3 separate regions of the Homo sapiens genome follow, and regions 2 and 3 are each linked to region 1. Evidence: promoter capture Hi-C in 16 types of primary human blood cells and fetal thymus (Javierre and others, 2016). All regions are on one chromosome and are shown on one strand. Each heading gives the region's core, a stretch centred on a gene start or on the middle of the fragment in contact. The rest is flanking DNA. Distances are from core to core; before and after follow the strand shown. Region 1 holds the start of COG6 (component of oligomeric golgi complex 6). Region 2 has its middle 110 kb from the start of NHLRC3. Region 3 has its middle 230 kb from the start of NHLRC3.

The links. The method cuts DNA at HindIII sites, captures the fragments that hold promoters and counts their contacts. A CHiCAGO score of 5 or more calls a contact.
Region 2: a contact is called between a fragment that was not itself captured here and the fragment with the promoter of COG6 in region 1, in 1 of 17 cell types (endothelial precursors). The highest score is 5.3, in endothelial precursors.
Region 3: a contact is called between a fragment that was not itself captured here and the fragment with the promoter of COG6 in region 1, in 1 of 17 cell types (M2 macrophages). The highest score is 5.7, in M2 macrophages.

The regions. Positions count from the first base shown.
Region 1 is chr13:39,654,098-39,657,169 of GRCh38, reverse strand. It overlaps COG6 (component of oligomeric golgi complex 6), which reads right to left and starts at 1,508. Exons shown (of 19, transcript NM_020751.3): 1 at 1,291-1,508. The coding sequence starts at 1,443. RefSeq lists a silencer at 1,195-1,244. The HindIII fragment of the contact is 8,496 bases long and covers 1-3,072 here.
Region 2 is chr13:39,150,944-39,154,015 of GRCh38, reverse strand. No RefSeq gene overlaps it. Among named protein-coding and RNA genes, the nearest start is that of NHLRC3, 110 kb to the right of the region's middle. The HindIII fragment of the contact is 277 bases long and covers 1,394-1,670 here.
Region 3 is chr13:39,266,944-39,270,015 of GRCh38, reverse strand. No RefSeq gene overlaps it. Among named protein-coding and RNA genes, the nearest start is that of NHLRC3, 230 kb to the right of the region's middle. The HindIII fragment of the contact is 742 bases long and covers 1,058-1,799 here.

The DNA of each region.
Region 1 (3,072 bases), core at 259-2,758:
ATCCCAGCTACTTGGGAGGCTGAGGCAGGAGAATCGCTTGAACCCGGGAGGCAGAGGTTGCAGTGAGCCGAGACTGCGCCCATTGCACTCCAGCTTGGGCAAAAAGAGCAAAACTCTGTCCAAAAAAGAAGGCCATGTTATCTATATCAGAGCAAGTAGCAGTCTTAAATGATATAATAAATATCAATATGAGACACATTAAACACTTCATAAATTTTATGATAAAATTAATATTTGTTAAGAAAGAGTAAGTGCCAGGCTCTTTGCAAAGGACTTTACCTGGAGTCTCTCACTGAGTCCTCAAATAACAACCATGAGAAACTTAACAGCAGGATTCCTAATTCCTAAACAGAAGCTGAGATTAGTGAAGGGACTTACTCAAATCATGATGCACACATTTAGTGGTTCTATCTAATAAGTGGTAGTCTCCAGAGCCCTAATTTCTTATTCATTACATTGCAATGTTATTTTTTTACATATCGGAATCAAATTGTTATCGACAGCTTATTTTCAGTTACCTACATATTCACCTATAAAACTCTCTAACTTTGACATATGTTCTTCTTTATGTTACACTGTCATGACCAATTTACCTAGCGACCCACAGAGACAGAAGAGATGGCTGGGTATGTGAGGAGCTGTAAAGTCCAACTTAAGTTTCAGGAGGTACTTGTGAGAGCATGCTGTCAGTTTATCTTCTAAAGAAATACAGCCTGAGCCCACAAATCATAGCGCTTGGCTCAACAAAAACTAGTAGATATGAGTTCATTTCAGCCACGGGCAAAGGTAGTTCTTTCGCGCTGCAAATTATTGCAATTGTTGTCACTTGTCCGTGGAAATGCACCCTTATCCCTACCACTGCTCTCTTGGTCTCCCGACCCCCATTTGCGCTACCTTATCTTGGAATCTGCTCTTTTGCATCTGTTTCATATCCAGTCTTGTGCTCTCCTCCACTCTCCCAGCTCACACAGCCAAACGCCTCCAGGGGTGTTTGGAGGACACTTCTCGAGGCACCACCGTTCACCAATCCCATCCAGAGAGCCTTGAAGGCACCTTTTCAGGTGGAGAGAACACCCAGGAAACCCCTTCGCTTTTCCGGAGGTTGCTGGGGCTCCCCCTTCTCACCGCCCCCGGCGCCCGCAGAGCAGCGGAGCCCGCAGGTCTGGGGTCACTCGCGGTCCCTCTGCTGCCGGGACGAGGGAGACCGCGGTGGGTCCCTGACAGACGCCGCCCCTGGCCCGGCTCAGCCCCGCAGGAACCTGTGACTCCGGCCCCGCCAGCCCCGGTTACCTTGTCGTTGTCCAGCCGCGTCTCCAGGATCTTATGCAGCTTGCGCGACAGCGGGTTGCAGGTCGTCGCCGAGGTCCCGCCTGCCCCATTGTTGAGGCCGTTGGCAGCCCCGGTCGCAGACACTGCGACCACTTCCCCGCTGCCCTCTGCCATAGCGCTGCGCGTCCCGCCCCCTGCTGCCACCTCAGCCAGGCAGGGACCACGGAGGCAGCGCGAGTATTGCGCATGTGCAAATCGGCCGCGCATGCGCATCGGCCCCGGAAGTCTTCGCCGGGTAACCCTGCTTGGGCTCTCAGAAGCGTGAGGGGCGGAGAAGATGTGGGGGGCGGGACAAGACCCTCAGGTAGAAGGAGAAAATTTATAGGATTAGAGAGGACTTTGGAATTATGGATCTGCGACCTTCAGAGCTAATTAGATGACAACCAAATGTAGTATGTAAAATACACCATGACTTGTGCCTGGCATATACATTCAATATAAGTTAACTGAAAGTTTAAATTACATTTGCCTTATCTGAATTCATTTTTTTGAAAATTATTTATTGAAGGCATAGTATGTGCCAGGTACTCTGGTAGGCATTGGAGAATCTACATTGTGTGTCTGAAACAGACAAAGCTGTTAATAGATGTTATTAGGTTGTGATGAGTGCTCAGGGGATGAAGTAGTACAGTGAAAGAAAATGGAGGGAAAGGCCCACTTCACTCAGGGAGGTTTGGAGAGGAGTTGACACTTAAACTGAGATTTGAAGGAGAATCAGAATGTGAGGAGAAATCATTCCCAGGCAGAAGAAAGTGTGTAAGTGTACAGGCCTCAAAACAAGATGAACTTGGCCCTGACACAAATGGACCAGAGCCCATGTAGCTGTAAAGTAATGGATAAAAATGTAACAAGTTGAAAAAACTTCCCGGGAAACTCTGGAAAACAAACATCATTGCTTTTTTTCTTTCTTTTCTCAGTTTTTAAAATTTGGATCAAAATAAAATCGCTGGGCTTCTGTGAATTATTTGTCAGAAACACTATTTGGCTCTTGTCATAAATTTTCCTTGTTTCATATATGTCTATGTACATAGTTATATTGTATATCAGACTTAAGGGAAAATTACCTATTACAGAGGTCACATAAAGAAAGCACTGACAAAACCACTCATCTCTACTCTAATGAAGAAGAGAAGGCCCAACTATCCAAAAGAAAAAAATATACAAAAAGCAGCAATATCTAGGTATGAATTCAACAAAAAATACAGAGAACCTAGATGAAGAAAACTTTAAAATGCTACTGGGAGAACATAAAACTTAAATCAATGAAAAAATATATTGTTCTCTTCAACAGGAAGACTCAATATTGTAAGATGTCTTTTCTCTTTCACAGATAAATTTAAGTTCAGTGTAACCAAAATTAAAATATCAAAGGTTTACCTAAGGTGTATATATCCAAATGAATTTGCATATATACAAAGCAATAATATAATGTAGAGCTTGCAAATATGTACAATTAAAAGGAATGACGATGATAACATGCCAAGTCAGGAGCGGTCATGAAATACCACATATTGTATGACCTCTTTATGTGAAATCTCCCAAATAGGTAAATCAATAGAGATAGAAAGTAGATGAGTGGTTCTGGGAAGAGGAGTGTTGGGAAGAGGGAATGGGGAGTGTCAGTTCATGGTACAGGTTAATTTTTGGGGAGATGAAAATACTCTAAAGCTAAATTGTGGTGATGGTTGCACAACTCTGTAAATATACTAAAAAACACTGAACTGTACACTTTAAATGAATGAA
Region 2 (3,072 bases), core at 283-2,782, 500 kb after region 1:
TTGAGGTAAATCGAATCACTTTAGTTCATGATATGATTTAAAGCAGCTGTCAGCAAGGCTTGAGTTAATCAATTTTACTATTCAGAATATTGCTTAATATAATCAACCATCTATTGAACAGATACTGTGTGATAAGTACTGCAATATGCTACCAGTAGGATGCGAAGGCAGCATGAAGTGCATGAAGGCTTCCCAGAAAAAGTAAAAATAAAAACAGAGAGGAAGGCAAAGATGGGTGTGAAGGGGGATGCAGGGAGACTTGAATGCATTTACTCACAAAAACATATTTGGTATGCCTTTCAGATCTCCTTTTCAAAGGAGGGAGAATCAAATTTGTATGTGTGTGTATACCTATATCTATGCCTATATATTTACATCTATGCCTACATCTATATTTCGAGAAAGTGAGAGGTAGGGGAAACAGGCAAAGTTTTCGGAAATTAACCACAGTAATGGCGAGGCCATTAATGTATTAGTTGGGTTTTAGTTAAATAATAGAAACTAAGTTAATTCAGTATAAACAGAGAAGTGACATATCGAAAGGACATTAGTAGCCTACAGAATTACTGGGTGGTCATGTGAACCAGGCTTAGATGAAGGCTGTGCAGCCAGAAGTTCTCCTGCAGCACTGATCTGGCACTGCTGTTCCAGAAGATCTACCTTATTGTAATCAACATTGCTGCTATAGAGAGGATTTTCTACAGCCCCAGAGTTTTGTATGAGAAATACCTGACTCAAATTCCAGGGTGCATCTGACCAGCACGTGCTTATGCCCTCACTGCAAGGGAGACTGGGAAAGTGAGCTACTGGTATCTGATATTTCAATGACCACTACAGTAAAATCTCCATTTGTTTCCTGTGGTTGCTGTAAAAAATTACCACAAACTTGGTGGCTTAAAGCAACAGAAATTTATTCTCGCATAGTTCTGGAGCCCAAAAGACCAAGTCACGGTGTCGGCAGGGCCACACTCCCCACTTTCTAGTTTCTTGCCTCTTCTAGCCCGGGTGGCTGCAGGCATTCCTTAGCTTGTAGCCACATCACTCCAGTCTCCACCTCCATCTTTATATTGCACTTTCCATGTGTATTTGTCAAATCTCCCTCTGCCTTTCTGTAATAGCATGTGATGGCAGATAGAACTCACCTTAATAATTCAGGCTAACCACCTCATCTTAAGATCCTTAATTTAGTTATGTTTGCAAAAATATGCCCCAAAAGGTAGCATTCACAGGGCCTGATATCTTTGAGATTCAGATGCAACAAATTATCCTTTACATTAGAAGGAGTATTTAGATGTACACCTTTCACTAAGATGGCAAGCCCCTGAATGTTTTTTTCAGGTTTGTTTCCTACAGGTTTGATATGCAAACGTCTTACAAATATGTCTTTAAAGCTTGCTACCTCTGGCTCACTATCTCTAATCAGAAAACAGGTAAAGAATTCCTAAACTATAATCAGGCTCAGATGTTGTCCACCAAAAAGAATGGTTAGTGTCTAGTACAACTAGTATACAAGATTTATAATGTAAGATCTTGTAGACTTTTGTTAGAAGTACACCATAGATTTTGTGCAACTAAATCATTCTTGGAAAATAACAAGGTCACCAACTAAGTAGCCAAGCTCTTCAGTTTCTCTTGCTCTTCTCATCTCCCTAATATGTCCAGTCTAAGCTTAAATGCAGGTGAACTGTAGTATAGGTATGTAAGACTTTAAAGAGAAATTGATAATTTCTAGTATATCCTTCTCAAAGATGAAAGAAAGCATAGAAGACCTAACTATGATATAATATTTAATGATGGTTTCATGAATGGGGAACTCAGTAAATTTTCCCAAAATGTATCCTATAAACCACATTTGGCACACAAGTGCCTGTGTGTGTTGGCTAAATAAGGTTCCATTTGGATTCATCTTCTGCTTCCTCATTGGCTACAGGCAGAGCCTGTAGAAATCATCACAATTTCTACCATGCCAGTCCTATAAAGAGTATACCTTTCTCCAAGTAGAGTAAATCCAAGTATAGATCAAAGCATGATCATAAGCCAAGCAGATAGCAGGTGGTGCAATATAATATTAAGACACATCACATGCAGCTTTCAGGGAACCAGATCAGAATAGGAGTGTCCTATTACACGAACTAGAGAGTCTGACTAAGCTGGAGAGATAAAAGATCCCAAACTCTCAAAAGCCAGGATGGAGATTCTAAAACCCAAGTTGCTTATAGACATATTTTTTCCTTTAAAAATTTTACTTTTTAATAGGCAACACAATATAACAAAGAGCTCTTGGGTATGTGGCTGCCCAGCCAAAGCCTATGACTCACAGGCTCCCTTGCAGTGGAGATGTGACTAAGTTCTGGTCAGTGCAATGTGCTTAGAAGTGATATGTGTGACTTCCAGTTTGTGCACTTAAAAAGGATATCCCATCGGGCGCGGTGGCTCACGACTGTAATCCCAGCACTTTGGGAGGCCGAGGCAGGCGGATCACCTGAGGTCAGGAGTTCGAGATCAGCCTGACCAACATGGTAAAACCCCATCTCTACTAAAAATACAAAAAGTTAGCCAGGCATGGTGGCAGGCGCCTGTGATCCCAGCTACACAGGAGGCTGAGGCAGGAGAATTGCTTCAACCTGGGAGGCAGAGGTTGCAGTGAGCTAAGATCCCACCATTGCACTCCAGCCTGGGCAACAAGAGTGAAACTCCGTCTCAAAAAAAAAAAAAAAAAAAAAGGAGATTCCCCCCCACCTTTCCCTTTTACATCCTAGTCATTAGATGTATTTTACTGATTGTGACAGTTGTGCTAGAATACATACCTGCAACAACATGTGCTTAGTCTTCTGTATTATTGTCAATACCTCCCTTTCCTGGTCAGCTGATACTGATGTTGGATACACACACTCTCAACCCAGCATAGCCCCTAGCTGGTTCTGACCAAAGTGGTCTGTGTTTCAGAAGGCACCATACCACTGAGGTTCAGACTAAGTTCCAAATATGATATCCTCCTTTTTTTTCCTGTGGTACAGGTATGATGTCTTCTTGATCTTTTAAATCTCCAGTGCCTAGCAGAGAGCCTGGAGC
Region 3 (3,072 bases), core at 179-2,678, 390 kb after region 1:
CCCACTCTAGTAGTACCCAGTATCTACTGTTCCCATCTTTATGTCCATGAGTACCCAATGTTTAGCTCCTACTTACAAGTGAGAACACGTGGTGTTTGGTTTTCTGTTCCTGCATTAATTCACTTAGGATGACCACCTCCAGCTGCATCCATGTTGCTGCAAAGGATATGACTTTGCTCTTCATTATGACTGTATAGTATTCCATGGTGTATATGTACTTACATTTCCTTTATTCAGTCTGTCATTGATAGGCACTTAGATTGATTCCATGTCTTTGCTATTGTGAATAGTGCTGTGATGAACATATGAGTGCATGTGTCTTTTTGTAGAATGATTTATTTTATTTGGGTGTATGCCCAGTAATGGGATTGCTGAGTTGAATAAGTAGTTCTGTTTTTAGTTCTGTGAGAAATCTCTAAACTGCTTTCCACAATGACCAAACTAATTTCCACTCCCACCAACAGTGTACAAGCATTCCCTTTTCTCAATAAACTCACCACCATCTGTTGTTTTTTGACTTTTTAATAATAGCCATTCTTACTGGTGTGGTTTTGACTTGCATTGAAATGTAAGTTCTGATGAAGTTATTCTACTGAAGAAAGACGTGAAAAATATTTATCAGATACATTCCATGAAGTGCCATAAAGTCGAATAAAAGAGCAGAGGATGGAGACTGGTGGTGGGGAGTGAGATGCTTCCTTAAGGTATAAGGGAATGCCTCTTTGAGGGTTGCCTTAACTGCATCCTTTATTTTCTGTATTCTGATGCTTTCATCCCTGGGGCCTGGCTGATCCTGGAGGGACTGCCTCTCTCAGGGATAGCCAAGTCTTAGAGATAGTAAACAACTCATGGATGTGCTTTCCAAATCCAAACCAAGGAATCCAGATCCCAGACCCTAACCCCCTCCTTTATCGTTTGTCATATTCTAGTCCACTATCCATCTGCTCTCATCACCTCAGGGCCAGACACCAGATAACTAGGGACAACCCCACTGAAATTATTCAAACTAGTCCATCCTAAACTTGCTTCCCTTCCCCTGGACACTGTAATAGAAGCTTTTACCCACAGCTGTCCCCACAACCTTCTGCCTCCTGATTGGCCCTAGTGTTTCCCCGCTGGGTCCACCATGGTGGGTCATGCCCCTGTTCTTGGCAACTGTGAGTAACAAACTGTCCTTTCAGTGGAATTTACCTCCTGGTCTATTGCCCTTACAATACCTCCACATTTCTATTAATACACTGTATTTTAACACAGAGGGGGTGACATTGAAGGAGAGACTTGAATGAAGTAAGGAGACTAAGGATATGTGGAGAACGAACATTGCAGTCAGAGAACTGCATGTGCTCGTGGGCAAGTTTGAGGAGCAGCAGGTTGGCCCTGTGGTCAGAGCTGAGTGAGCAAAGGAGAGAACACTACAGATCCATCAGGAAGGAGGCTGCAGTAGTGGTTAACGTGAGCACAGGTGCTGAGTTTCATTTGAAACTGCCAGTGATTAGACTGTCAATGGGGAGAGGCAAAATCTAGATAATCACTTTTCCAGATACTGAATAACTATTGTCAAAGGCATAAACTAGGGACAGACATAGGAGCAGATAGTTCACATCTCCTACAAGGTAGCTCTCGACTCCCATGAATGACAGAAGAGAAATTCTGTTTCCATATCGTGCTCTCTGACTATAATGGATTATTATGTTTGTGAAAGAAACACTATGTTACCTCAAACCAGAGCACTTTCAAAATGACCTGCTGGATCATCCCCACACCTGAGATCTTGTTTTGAATTTTGACTAAATGAAGCTTCTTTTCCTCTGAGTTTTTCTAAAGTAGCAAAAAATTTAGGACAAAGGCATTACTAATGAAGTAGGTCATAACAGAGTTGTCTTTAGCCAGGACTTATGCATGTATGATTAAATGCAATATTTATTATGTATGTGGGGGTGGGAACAATATTTAGTATGCATGTGGTGGGCACACATTAATTAGAAACTCTTTCTTGCATATCTTATTACTGTGCTAGGAATGAAAGATGCTCAGAAGTATAAAATGGTGTTCACCTTAAAGAGTAGTCATCAAGACAAACACAGATAAAACCCTTGTAATTACAATATTTAATAACAAGCCAAATTTTGTGGTATAGATGATAGCGTTTCTTTGAATTCAAAGCAAAGAGATAAGAAGTGTTGGCATGATAAATGAAAAGATTGATTTTAATTTTAATGTTGACCTTAAAGAAAGCATGTGATTTCAACAGAAGGATGGTAGAGAGACTGCATGAAGGGAGCAAACCGTGAAAGCAGAAGAGAATGTGGAGTGTTTGGGGACAGTAAAAAGTTAGCTTGGTTCAAAAGAGGAAAGCATGGAAAAATATATAACTGTTCGAGATCTTGAAAATAAGGCAAACAAGCATTTAGTAATAATTGGAGGAAATGGTGTATCATTTGTCATTTTGAACAAAGAAGGGACATCATGTGAATAACTTTTAGGAAAGATTTTTCTGTCTGAATTAAGCTGAATAGTTCAAAGGTAGAACAGCTAGAATTAAGGACAATAGACATGAGGTATATTAGTTTCCTAGAGGTGTCATAGCAAAGTACCACAAACTAGGTGGCTTGAAACAACACAAATTTATTGTCTCATAGTTCTAGAGGCTAGAGGTCTGAAGTCAAGATACCGACTTGATTGCTTCCTCCTGGAGGCACTGAGGGAGAGTCTGTTCCATGCCTCTCTTCAAGCTCTGGCAGTTGCTGGCGCTCCTTGGTGTTCCTTGGCTTGTAGATGAAGCACTCCAGTCTCTGCCTTTGTGGTCACATTGTGCTCTCTCCCTATTTATATTTGCATCTAAATTTCCCTCTTCTTTTAAGGACATCGTTCATTGGATTAGGACACACCCTAATCTGCTATAACTTCATTGTAACTTGATTACATGTGCAAAGGTCCTATTTCCAAATAAGGTCCTATTCACAGGTACCACAGATTAGGGCTTAAAGAAACTTTTTTAGAAGACACAAACCCACAACATGAAGATTAGGTAGTAATGTAAGTGCTATGGACTGAATTGTGTCACCCCCAGAT